3 separate regions of the Homo sapiens genome follow, and regions 1 and 3 are each linked to region 2. The links are contacts of gene promoters, found by promoter capture Hi-C in human tissues and cell types (Jung and others, 2019). All regions are on one chromosome and are shown on one strand. The core of a region is centred on a gene start or on the middle of the fragment in contact, and the rest is flanking DNA. Distances in the headings are between cores, read along the strand shown. Region 1 has its middle 12 kb from the start of LINC02734. Region 2 holds the start of FAM181B (family with sequence similarity 181 member B). Region 3 has its middle 32 kb from the start of FAM181B.

What was found. Contacts are between HindIII fragments. The study calls those that stand out against the background at their distance.
Region 1: a fragment that was not itself captured here is called in contact with the fragment with the promoter of FAM181B in region 2 in 1 of the 25 tissues and cell types used here (adrenal gland).
Region 3: a contact is called between a fragment that was not itself captured here and the fragment with the promoter of FAM181B in region 2, in 2 of the 25 tissues and cell types used here (hippocampus and pancreas).

Annotation. Positions count from the first base shown.
Region 1 is chr11:82,767,141-82,771,842 of GRCh38, reverse strand. No RefSeq gene overlaps it. Among named protein-coding and RNA genes, the nearest start is that of LINC02734, 12 kb to the left of the region's middle. The HindIII fragment of the contact is 3,483 bases long and covers 1,532-4,702 here.
Region 2 is chr11:82,732,593-82,736,750 of GRCh38, reverse strand. It overlaps FAM181B (family with sequence similarity 181 member B), which reads left to right and starts at 2,887. Exons shown (of 1, transcript NM_175885.4): 1 at 2,887-4,158. The coding sequence starts at 3,022. The HindIII fragment of the contact is 21,418 bases long and covers 1-4,158 here.
Region 3 is chr11:82,699,573-82,704,001 of GRCh38, reverse strand. No RefSeq gene overlaps it. Among named protein-coding and RNA genes, the nearest start is that of FAM181B, 32 kb to the left of the region's middle. The HindIII fragment of the contact is 4,112 bases long and covers 1,110-4,429 here.

The sequences.
Region 1 (4,702 bases), core at 2,024-4,523, 35 kb before region 2:
TTTAAACAGCTTCATACCCCCTCACATATTTTCAAGTTGACATCTGCCATTTTCATATATGTTTAAATATTGCAAGGAATGTATTTTTAAAATACATTACAAATATTGACATTTTAAAAAAGAAACTATTTTATGACTCTGAAATGAATCCATGCAAATTTTTATGAAACTCATGTATTTTGAAACAGCATTGGCTGGGCACAGGTGGCTCACGCTAATAATCCCAGTACTTTGGGAGGAGGGTGAGGCAGGCGGGCCACCTGAGGTCAGGAGTTCGAGATCAGCCTGGCCAACATGGTGAAACTTAGTCTCTACTACAAATGCAAAAATTAGCTGGGCGTGGTGGTGGGTGCCTGTAATCCCAGCTACTCAGGAGGCCAAGGCAGTAGAATCACTTGAACCCAGGAGGCAGAGGTTGCAGTGAACCGAGACCATGCCACTGCACTCCAGCCTGGGTGACAGAACAAGACTCCGTCTCAAAAAAAAAAAAAAAAAAAAAGGAAAAGAAAAGAAAAAAGAAACTTACTTATCATCCATGTAAAAAAAAAAAAATGAACGGCCGGGCGCGGTGGCTCAGGCCTGTAATCCCAGCACTTTGGGAGGCTGAGGCGGGTGAATCACGCGGTCAGGAGATCGAGACCATCCTGGCTAACGCTGTGAACAAAAAAAATTAGCCGGGCGTGGTGGCGGGCGCCTGTAGTCCCAGCTACTCGGGAGGCTGAGGCAGGAGAATGGCATCAACCCAGGAGGCGGAGCTTGCAGTGAGCCGAGATCAGCCACTGCTCTCCAGCCTGGGAGACAGTGAGACTCCACCTCAAAAAATAAATAAATAAATAAATAAAATAAAATAAAATAAAATAAATGAACAAACTCTCTTTCAATATTTGAAAATTTTGTATTCATCTTTTTTCTTATTTCTTTTCCACTGCCTTAAAATAATTTTATTCTTAAGTAAAATATTGAAAGTCTCTTTGTAGATTATCCTATCATAGTTTTTTGCAACAAATGTATATATTCATGTGTATGTATAAATATTATAAAATTTCTTATGACCATAATGACGATAAAGCTTCAAAGTATCAAAACCTTTCTTTTTGCTTTATCATTTCTATTATTAACTGATCAAATCAACATAAATATTAAGCAACTTAATTAATGATTATTAAAGATAAGAGATAAGGTCATATTTGTAAATGCATTTCTTAATGAGATGGATGGGATGGTGGACTTCACAGTGCCTTGATTGAAGGGCTTGTAACATGATCTCTTCATTTTGATGCCCTTGACATTTTACACTTCATGACAATACACTGTCTTAAGATTTGAGATTAATCATCTCCATTTTTATTATTATTATATTATTATTTATTTCAAAATAATCACAAACTTATCAAAGAGTTGAGATACAATACAAAGATTTTTTTGTGGGTATAAACCATTTGAGAGTAAGTTATGACATGATGTCTCATCACTCCCAAATACTTTAGTGTAACTTTCTTGTGAGGAAGGCCATTCTTGTACATAAGCACAGTACAAGAGTTAATATTGGGAAATTAACATTGGTACATTATTACTATATATTTCTTAGATCCTATTCAAGTTACACCAGAATTTGCTCCTTATCACTCCTTGCATTTAGGTGTCCTGTCTCTTTTGTGTTATTCATTTTAGAACAGTTCCTTAGTCTTTCCTTCTTTCATGACTTTGGCAATTTGAAGATTATAGGCCAGCTACTTTGTAGAATGTTCCTTGATTTGGGTTTGTCTACTATTTTCTCATGTTGGATTCAGATTATGCATTTTAGGCAGAAATATTTCAGAGATGTTTCTGTATTCTCAATGCATTCTTATATCAATGATATAAGATTTCAATCTCTCCCTTAATTGATGTTTACACTGATCACTTAAGTTGTACCCTCTGTCAAGTTACATATCCACTGTAAAATTACTCTTACACTACACAAAATACATATTTGTGGAAAGGTATTTTAAAGCTTTGTAAATATTCAATTTCTTAACAAATCTTTAATTTAGTCATATACCTATGAGTGTCTGTTTGGATTTATGGTATCCGATTTTATTTGATTTTTGTCGTTGTTGTTGAGACAGAGTCTTGGTCTTGTCGCCCAGGCATGCAATGGTGTGATCTCGGCTCACTGCAACCTCCACCTCCCGGGTTCAAGCGATTCTCCTGCCTCAACCTCGCAAGTAGCTGGCATTACAGGCGCCGGCCACCACACCTGGCTAATTTTTTTGTATTTTTAGTAGAGACCGGGTTTCACCATATTGGCCAGACTGGTCTCTAACTCCTGACCTCAGGTGATCTGCCCGCCTCAGCCTCCCAAAGTGTTGGGATTACAGGCATGAGCCATCACACTTGGCCTTATTGAATGGATTATGATACATCATGATCATTATTTATTTTGATGCTCAAGTTGTTCTCTATTTAGCGAGTGGCAACCTCCTCAAGCTGGCTTCTGAGTCCTTTGGACAAATCTTCATCATTTTTTGAGCAAGTCTCTTCTGGCACAAAAGATGTTCCAGGCTCATTTTGTGCTTTCCCTCATCAGTATTAAAATCAGCCAGTTATCCAAGGAGTCAAGATCTAAGTGCCAGGTGTGCTCACTACTATTGGGCTACTGCTGTTTCCAGACTCTCTTAGTGGACAGGACCAGGGAACACGCATTTATGTCTATATTTCTACATATGTCTGCCTGTATTGAAAACCAAAAGTTCATAGCAAAGCCTCCAATTCTAATCCAATATAGCAGGGACTATTTTAGTTTCTTTCCCCTACATTTCAATATTTATACCTGTCTTCTCTGAAAGGGAGAATCTTGGCTCTTTTTATCCTTAATATGTTTAATTTTTGATCCATCTCCCTGTATAAAGCCAACTTCCCATCTCTGTCTCCTACATGAATGACCTCTTCCACATTCTTCAACACTGCATGCTGGGCCTCCCCTCTCCATGGATGCCTGCCTTACTTGCTTGGACAAATCATGTCATTCCCCATTCCTCATTGTGCTCTGGCTCTGACACTCCACAGTGAGCTCCAGTCCAATGAACTTCCTTCTTGCCAACATCAGGCTGCCTCCCAGGCTTAATACCTCTCACCCTGCTTGGGCTCTGACACCTGACCGTGGACCACTACAGCTCCCCTTCTTCATCCTGACCCATTGTTGCACTGCCAAGACAGACTTCTACTTTGCTCTGCCTCACCTAAATGCTTTAGAAGTGAATTGTTCAGGAAGAGAAGGGAAAGGAAATAAAGAGAAAGGGAAAAGGATTAGGAAAAGGGGGAAAGAAAAAGAGAAGGGCTATGCCTTGCTTTTTTAAAAAATAAAAGGAAGACAATCATGAGAGCCTAGGACAGGAAATGAGCCTCTATTATCAATTTTAGGAAAGAACCCATATGGAATTTAGGATATGGATATATATCTTGTTAGAGCTACAAGTATCTGAGTACTCTTGAAGAATCTTTTCACATCCTTAGGTGTATGTAACACACTAGTTTGAAGACCACTGATACCTAAAGTAAGTAAATGAAAAATATAAACACCTAGGAAGACACTTCCTACCTCAGAATTCTGGAAAACAGGCCCCCAAACCTTCTAATTACCATAATTTTTTTACCCTAACCTCTGCAAGTCTACTCCTTGCCCCTCTGTCCTTCTTTCATCCAGGTCACCTGTCTAGAAGCATAGTGCTGTCCATCCACAGCTTCTCTGTGTGCTAGAATCCACTGACTTGGCCCTTTCTTCAACTTCCTCCTCCCTCAACTTTAAAACTGACCTCCTTTATAGATGGGGACTCCAGGAGTTCTTCCTTTGCCTTTGCTGGGGGATAGGTCTTTAGTGATCTGTGGTACCTCTGGTTAGAGCTTTTCCCTTCAGGGACTCAGGGCTTGGAGTTCTGAGGTGGGCTGGATTAGAGGACACATTGAAGTGAAGTTGGAAGGAGACTTGAGCTGGGACTTTATATGTAGCATATCTAGGAAAGAAATCTGTTTGGCAGCACTAAGTTCCACATAGCACTATTAAGAGGTAAGTGTTTTATCACCACCATTTTACATAATGAAACTAACATTCTTTACTGAAGTAACTTGGCCAAGATCATAAATCTAAGAGCAGAGAACTAGGCAGATTTATTTCACATAAATTAGTAATTAACAACTTCAATTAAACCTGAGACACTGTCTGGCAATTATATTAGGTTCCTTTAGAATGCTCCTTTACCCACTTTCCATAATGGCCTCTCATATTTTTTTCTCTTTCTTCTGTCAAGAATAAAATTAGATGAAACTAGAATTTTTTCTTTTTTTTTCTGGGAGACTGGAGTTTTATTATTACTCAAGTCAGTCTCCTTGAGCATTTGGGGATCAGATCAGAGTTTTTAAGGACAGCTTGGTGGGTGGGGGAAAGCCAGTGAGCCGGGAGTGCTGATTGGTCAGATCAGAGATGAAATCATAGGGAGTCCAAGCTATCTTCTTGTGCTGAGTCAGTTTATTGATCTGGGTGCTGCCAGCTGAAAACTAGAAATTTTTAAAAAGTGTATTGTGCATACAACAGAACAGTTCACAAACCAGGAGACCTAAAACTGAAAGTGGTAGGAAGCTCTGTTTATAAGTTAAAGTGCAGGCATAAAGTATACATGAATCAGCATATTTATCTTTATTATAATTGGGTATCATAAATCTATAT
Region 2 (4,158 bases), core at 1,638-4,137:
AACCCTGGGGATTAAGAGTTTTTTCGGAATAAGATGTCGATTAAATGTAGAGTACTGTGCAATTGGTGTCCAAGGACTTGTAAGAGTGCTCAGTTGACAGAAGGTGAAAAAAAAAAAAAGTTAGTGCTTTTGGCTGCCAGACCTGGAAGCCTATGGAATGGCCCTGTTGGAAAGGGGATGGGCAGTGCTGACATCCACATCTGGAGTGGAAGAAGCACAAATCAGTGACAGGTCTGCACAATTTTCTGAATGTGAATACCACCAAGAGTAAAACAGACAGTTCGGCCATGGAGGACAAAATGCTGTGTGTAACTCAAATGAAAAGTCCATGATAATTGAGCCAATTTGAATTTAAAATAAAAAGTTTGGCTCAGCTATGTGGGTTTGGGAAGTGGCTACTTCATCTTCTAAATGAAAAATGTTCATCTGGCCTTTTTTCTTTCTTTCTTTTTTATTATACTTTAAGTTCTAGGGTACATGTGCACAATGTGCAGGTTTGTTACGTATGTATACATGTGCCATGTTGGTGTGCTGCACCCATTAACTTGTCATTTACATTAGGTATATCTCCTGACGCTATCCCTCCCCCATCCCCCCACCCCACGACAGGCCCCGGTGTGTGATGTTCCCCACCCTGTGTCCAAGTGTTCTCATTGTTCATTTCCCACCTGTGCAGTGTTTGGTTTTCTGTCCTTGCGATAGTTTGCTCAGAATGATGGTTTCCAGCTTCATCCATGTCCCTACAAAAGACATGAAGTCATCCTTTTTTATGGCTGCATAGTATTCTATGGTGTATATGTGCCACATTTTCTTAATCCAGTGTATCACTGATAGACATTTGGGTTGGTCCCAAGTCTTTGCTATGTGAATAATAGTCTTTGCTATGTGCCACAATAAACATACGTGTGCACGTGTCTTTATAGCAGCAAGATTTATAATACTTTGGGTATATACCCAGTAATGGGATGGCTGGTTCAAATGGTATTTCTAGTTCTAGATCCTTGAGGAATCGCCACACTGTCTTCCACAATGGTTGAACTAGTTTACAGTCCCACCAACAGTATAAAAGTGTTCCTATTTCTCCACATGCTCTCCAGCACCTGTTGTTTCCTGACTTTTTAATGATCGTCATTCTAACTGGTGTGAGATGGTATCTCATTGCGGTTTTGATTTGTATTTCTCTGATGGCCCATCTGGCCTTTTTTCTTTGGTAAGGCTGTGCCTTCATGGTGTTCAAAAATGGTTTCGCTACATCTACAAAGTGAGGCTTAATAAAAAGAGTTTTGAAAGAGATGGTCTATGTCTCTCCTATGCAAGCTCTGTATCGAAACTAGAGTAACTTATTTAGAGAACACTTTATCACACACACAGTGTTTTCATATAGAGACAGTCCCCAACTTATGATGGTTCAACTTTATGATTTTCCAACTTGAATCAGTGTATTACATGCATTTTAACCTACAATATTTTCAACTTACAATGTGTTTATCAGGATGTTGTTGCTCTATCACAAATTGAGAAGCATCTATGATCTCACTTAATGCTCATGAACACCCTATGATCCAGAAGACACGTAAGGGATATAGTCACCTTTTTGTGTTTCAGAGAAGTAAGGGTGAATACTCATCCAGGCTATGGAACAATGTATCATTTAAATATCACAAGTGCCCTGTGGGGAGGGCAACTTTACCTGCATTTAACATGAGTAAGCTAAACAGAGAGAGTACGCTGGTTTGTCTAAAGCCATGCACTCAGCAGAGCAAGGATTTCAACCTAAGTCATGAGGTTATTGAGTGGTGGCTAAGACCAGAACCCAAGCCTCTTCTGAATCTCTTGTGAAAATGACCTTATTGCTCATTTTCTCTATCTATCCCAAAGAGGATTGCCCAGGTGAAATTAGTTTTAAGTGAACTTCATGATGATCCCTGAAATGCAATGAAAATTCCAGGGATAACCTAAATGGTATGACAGGTAGGGGAGAGGTTCCAATCCATCTTTTATTCTAACATGCTGAGAGTTTTATACACACACAGTGTTCTCAAGTAACAGGGGGCTTAGCCAGATCGACTCCTTTCTCCATTGCCTCCTGCTATGTGTTAATAAAAGATGGGCCACTGCTGGCCTCAATTTACTGTTAGCCAATTGTTACTCGTAACAATCAAGTGGCAAACAGTCAAGAAGAAAGAGCACTGGGCTTGAGAATCCTGGGAAAACTCAGGTTAGAATCTTAGGATCAGGTCTAGAGCTTTAAGAAATACTCATTTTCCTTCCCCATCTTAATAGATGAGAAAGGCAAGGGCAAGAGAGGACGCAAGTATTGTCAAGGGCTTAGGAATGGCTTTGGAGTCAGAATGGGCTAGATCTGACTTTGGCCAACTCACTGAACCTCCCTGAGGTGCAGTGTCCACGTTTGTTGAATGGCGATAACATGTAATTCACAGGGCTGTTGTTCAAGGATTAAATGAGATAATAGATGGACAGCGCCTGGCAGAAGCAAGCGCCCAGAAGCTGGTGGGTGTTGTTATACAGCTGGACTGAAACCCACGTCTCTAGACTCCTGCCTTCTTGCCTCAGGAGAGGCACCACCGCAAGTACCTGCAGAAGCCTATCAAGCGCTGCAGCGGCCTCATGGGCCTGAACTGGAGTTTGAGACCAGCCATCTCTTCCTCACCCCTTGCGGTTAGAGGAGTCAAGAGAAACACCACGGGGCAAAGGGAAACGAAGGAGTTAAGGCGTTGAGCTTCAGAAAGCTCAGAAAACTAAAGCGACCCCCCACTCCTCCAAGCCAGGCTAAGTAAGCCCCTCCCCTCTACCACCGGGACGGTCGCCGCGCGCTCCCTCCCTCCGCCCCTTGCTTACAAGACCTAATGAGCTCCCCCGGGAGGCAGCGCAGCGAGCCAGGCCCGGAACTAGTAGGCTGCGCCGCGCGCGCCGCGCCGGGGCGGGAGCTGGGTCTGGGCGGCGGGCAGGAGCTGGCGGGGGCGCACGGGCAGCGCTGCGGACAGCCCGGGAGCCGCGGCGATGGCGGTGCAGGCGGCGCTCCTCAGCACGCACCCTTTCGTGCCCTTCGGCTTCGGGGGCTCCCCGGACGGGCTAGGGGGCGCCTTCGGAGCCCTGGACAAGGGCTGCTGTTTCGAGGACGATGAGACCGGGGCTCCGGCGGGTGCGCTGCTGTCGGGAGCCGAAGGAGGGGACGTGCGCGAGGCCACCCGCGATCTACTCAGCTTCATTGACTCGGCGTCCAGCAACATCAAGCTGGCGCTGGACAAGCCGGGCAAGTCGAAGCGGAAGGTGAACCACCGCAAGTACCTGCAGAAGCAGATCAAGCGCTGCAGCGGCCTCATGGGCGCCGCGCCCCCCGGCCCGCCCTCCCCGAGCGCCGCCGACACGCCAGCCAAACGGCCGCTGGCCGCCCCTAGCGCCCCGACAGTCGCGGCCCCGGCCCACGGCAAGGCTGCCCCCCGGCGGGAGGCGTCGCAGGCCGCCGCGGCCGCCAGCTTGCAAAGCCGAAGTCTGGCCGCGCTCTTCGACTCGCTGCGCCACGTCCCCGGGGGTGCCGAGCCGGCGGGGGGTGAGGTGGCTGCGCCGGCGGCCGGGCTAGGAGGTGCGGGCACTGGGGGCGCGGGAGGGGACGTGGCAGGCCCCGCGGGGGCCACGGCGATCCCAGGGGCCAGGAAGGTCCCGCTGCGGGCACGCAATCTGCCTCCGTCCTTCTTCACGGAGCCGTCCCGGGCAGGCGGCGGCGGGTGTGGCCCGTCGGGGCCGGACGTGAGCTTGGGCGACCTGGAGAAGGGCGCGGAGGCCGTGGAGTTCTTTGAGCTGCTGGGGCCCGACTACGGCGCCGGCACGGAGGCGGCAGTCTTGCTTGCCGCCGAGCCTCTCGACGTGTTCCCCGCCGGAGCCTCCGTACTGCGGGGACCCCCGGAGCTGGAGCCCGGCCTCTTTGAGCCGCCGCCGGCAGTGGTGGGAAACCTACTGTACCCCGAGCCCTGGAGCGTCCCGGGCTGCTCCCCGACCAAAAAGAGCCCCCTGACTGCCCCCCGCGGCGGCTTGACCTTGAACGAGCCCTTGAGCCCCCTGTACCCCGCCGCTGCGGATTCTCCCGGCGGGGAGGACGGGCGGGGCCATTTGGCCTCTTTCGCCCCCTTCTTTCCAGAC
Region 3 (4,429 bases), core at 1,916-4,415, 33 kb after region 2:
AAACTCAGGCAATTAATGGCTGAAAGACAGATCATTTATTCTAAAAGCACCAATCACAGGAGCGAAAGGGTGTGACAAAATGCATGAAGACCTATAAACCTCTTGCCTGGGGTGAAGGTATTGAATCGAAGAGTTGGAGACACAGGGGAAAATTTCCAGCCGTGCTCGGGTCTATATAGCACCTGAAACTGCCTCCCGGATAAAATCTTTTTGAGAGGTGTCCTGGGTAAGGGAGCATGCACTGCCTCTTCCATATTCAGTTTAGGGTAACCATTCTTACTGATGACTATGTGATGGCAGTGGACTGGGTTGTTCAAGTTTTCATTGGGCAAATTTGCATTGAGCAGTTATGACTCCAGTTTACCTTCAGTCTCTTCTTCCATTTATTGAGTGTCTCCGATGTGCAGACACTGAGCTAGGAGGGGCTTTCACATGTGCCCTTTCAGGAAACTTGTATGGTGGAATTAAGAGATGGCAATGTGTGAAGAGGCTGGCCTATGGAGTTCCATAAGCCTAGGATCAAATACAAGCTCTGCCACTTCCCAGCAGGGGAACCTTGGGCAGGTCACTTAACCTCTCTGAATCTCCACTTCCTCATTTGTAAAATGAGAATAAATGATAACTGCCTTGTTAAGTAGTTGAGAGAAGTAAGGTGAAGTGTAAAGTAAAGCCCAAGCACAGCACCTGAGACACACAGGCCATCAAATGGCTACTATTATATCTCCTGCTGCAAATGAAGAAGACCCAGAGAGGCGAGTGACCTGTTTAGAGCATAACAAAACCCGCTCCACTACTTTACTTCTCTGTGTCTTATTAGAATGCACTCTGCTATGGTTGTTCTGTGGGGGCTTGGCAAAGCCACACTTCTTTTGTAAGTTGGGGTCTCTCCCAAACAGTGGTGCTGATAGTGGCTGATTCCTACCTGAAAGTGCCCTTAGTTGCTGTGGTGATGAAAAGGAGCTAAAACCAAGAAGGGGTTATGAAATGTTGCCTTGAGAAAAGTTTTCTCCCTCTCTACCTTAACTAAATGTGTTCAAAATGTACCCTTTGAATCCAGTGGGAAACTTCCATACCTCTTTTTCCCATGAATGGTAGGTCATATGACATGGATACAGTCTAAGATTATGTGGTTCAGTTGTTACTCAAACAGGGTTTTGGGATATTAGCTGATTTACCTTTTTTATTTGTAGTCACCCTTGTCTTGATCTGACAGGATTAAGAGTTACATATGGACTAGTTTGGGCTTTAGATTACAGAAATAGAGAATTTGGTCTTTTGTTTCTTTTTCTCTTTTTAAAAAAATTTATTTTAGATTCAGGGGGTACACGTGCGTGTTCGTTACATGTCTGCTTTTTTAATGCATGCAGGCTCAATAAATGCTCCTTCAATAGAATGGACAGGGGTGCTTTCCCTAGCAGAGGTGGTGTTGCAGAAGTAGATTCTGAGATGGTTATTCAGCTCTGCCTTTAGGATTGACACCTAATGAAGAGACTGGAAGTAGGATTAGCCAGAGAGAGAAGCTGACCAACAACATGGGCCCAATATCAGCCCCAGCCCACCCTGTGGGGAGATCTGGAGCGAGAATGGCCTTTCGGAGGTCTTGAGCTGGGGTAAGTTGGTCAAGCATCTACACTACCGCCTCAGTCAGTCATTGTTATGTGGGTCACTCTGGGGAGGGCGTGACCTTGGGAGAGGCAGGTCTCTGTAGTAGAGGCAATTTGTTAACAGCCGAAGTCTTTCCACATGTACAGTCCCAGCAGCAGGCAACAAGGCATTCACTGAAGTGAATTGCAAGCAATGCACACCGTACCTGCCATGCCTTGATATTGTAAGGGGGTGGGGTTCTTAAAACAATGTTTGTGTTTGTGTGATTATTAACACTCATTAGACTGGACAAAGGAGACTTACTCCCACCCTGTTTGCATGGTTCAATTTGGATGGCATAATGGCCTTTGAACAAAAGGTGGCGCTGTAGTGTCAGTTTTGAGGTGCTTTGCTGCAGCTAGGAATTGTGGCAGAATGATAGGACCATTTGGTTTTCTTTATAAAGAAAACCATAGGAAAGAAGATGAGATGCTATTTTCAAGGGGTTTTTTCCCCTGGCACTGAAATACTTGGAAGAGGTGAGATCCAAGGGCTGTGTGTGTGTGCACACACACACATGTGCATGTACACATGTGAGTACATGTTGGCAGTGACAAAGGGGGTGGAGGATGGAAGACTTATTGTTTGCTCCTTCTCTCACTCCTTTTCTTCTTTGCTTCAGAAAATACCTTAGTGCCAGCTCTTGGGTTTTTAGCTCTAGGCTGATCACCAGGGTAACAGAAATGAGCAATATCTGGAGTCCTCTTTAGGAAGCTTTGGTGGAACAAGGAAATGGCACCTGTATGTGCCTCATACAATAAAAGTTTCATGGGTGCTTCATTTCTAAGTCAAAGATTAGAGAGTGATCAGGGGAGGCTGGAGAGAAGTTAAAAACCAAGCTTTGAATGGTGGTACTGAGCTTTCCATTCAAGAGGCGACTGTTGCACAGGGGCTGGGTCCGGGTTTTGGGGTCACATCCCTGGGCCTATTTCTGACTCCTGCTATTCAGCTGTGTGCACTTAGACAAATGACTTAATCACTCTGTGCTTTAAAATGGCTTCAGCTGGAAAAGAGGATTTTTCTAATTCCTAACTACAGGGCTGTTGTGAGGATTAATTGAGAGCTAATAAATATAAAGGGTTAAGATTAATATATTGCATATGATAGGATTTAATAAGTCCTAGCTATTATTTTTAATATTCTCTATTATTAGTTTCAAAACATTTTTGGGCATATACATTATGCTAGGTCCTATGCTAGTTGCCTGAAAAACAAAGATGAACACAGCACCCTCATGGAGTCAAAGAGGACAAGTGCACAGAGTAGACAATTAAAACAATGTGTGAAGCCCTAGGACTGAGACTCAGGCAGGGTTTATGGGAGCAGGTGGAGGGGCACCAAAGTCACCTTCGATGGGGAAGGGTGTTGGTGATGAGCTTGGGGAAAGCTTCCTGTCTGAGATGCTTCTTCAACTGAGTCAGTACATGATGAGTAGGAGTTCAGCATCGGAGGGTGGGAGAGGATGGCTGGATGAGAGTACTCCATGAAGAAGGTGCAGAAAGGAAGATAGTACCAGACACTGGTGAGCAGGGAATGATTAACAGTTTGGCATTGCCAAAGTATACAGTTCGAGTGTGAAGTAGCAAGGGTTTGGGGTGGGGAGGGCCTGGATCACAGACAGTCATGGCTGATAGTAAGTCACTGAAGGTTTTCAACAGGGTAGTGCATCCAATGACCATGCCTGGTACCCAGTGGGGCTTAAATGTTAATGGATGAATGAATAAAACCTGAGTAGAATTTTAGTGTATGAGTGTAGGGAGTATCAGTGAGATTAGGCCTAAGGTGGATGATTCCATCAGTCCAAGTCTACTGACTCGCTTTAAGCGCACACACACGCACACACACACACAATGTATATTGTAAAGGTAATGTATGCTCATTATAAAAATAGTCAAGTAGTACAGAAAGCCATATAGTGAGAAGGTAAACGTTTTCTTTGCATTCATTCCTTCAGTTCCTTGGAGGTAACTAGTATTAAGAGTTTTTTTGGGTATCTTTCCAGACAGATGTAGGCATACACACCTGCACAGAAAAATGCAGAACAGTGTGGTGCTTAGATGCAAGGATCTGGAGCCAGCCTGCCTGGGTTCCAATGATAACTCTTAGTCTCTGCTATTATAGCTTTATGAGCTTATCCTAGTTACATAACCTCCCTACACCGTGGCTTTCCTATAAGTAAAGTGAACACCTACCCCACAGGGTTGTTATGAGGATTAGATGAGTTATGTATAAAGGAATTACAGTGCCTGGCATATAGTCTTTGTTACATTTATAGATAATCTCTTTTCTAGGATAACACAAGGAAGTCAAAATAAAAAATGTAGATAATCTCTTAAAATGATAAAGGAACATATTTTAATAGTGCTTTGCAGTGTGCTTTTTCTCACACACTAAAGAATCTTACACATCTTTCCACATCAGTAAACATAAATTTACCTCATTGCTTTTAATGCTGCAAGGCACTGTATGGGATGCATATACTGTAATTTATTTAATCAGTCTCATATTTATGGACACTTAGGTTGTTTCCATTTTTCACTCTTACGAACAATGCTACAATGGCTGTCTTTGTGCACTTGTTCAAGCACAAATCACATCGCTGGTATAAGGGAGCCCTACCATAGGGTATCTATTTTTTTCTTCTTCAGTGGAAGCAGCTGCCAACTGATACAACCATGAACAGGCACATCTTGAGGGACACATCTTAAATCTGCACATGTGTACCAGGCTGTGATCCTATCCTGGATAAAAGGTGTAATGGAGTCACTGGGAAGTTCAGGGGAGG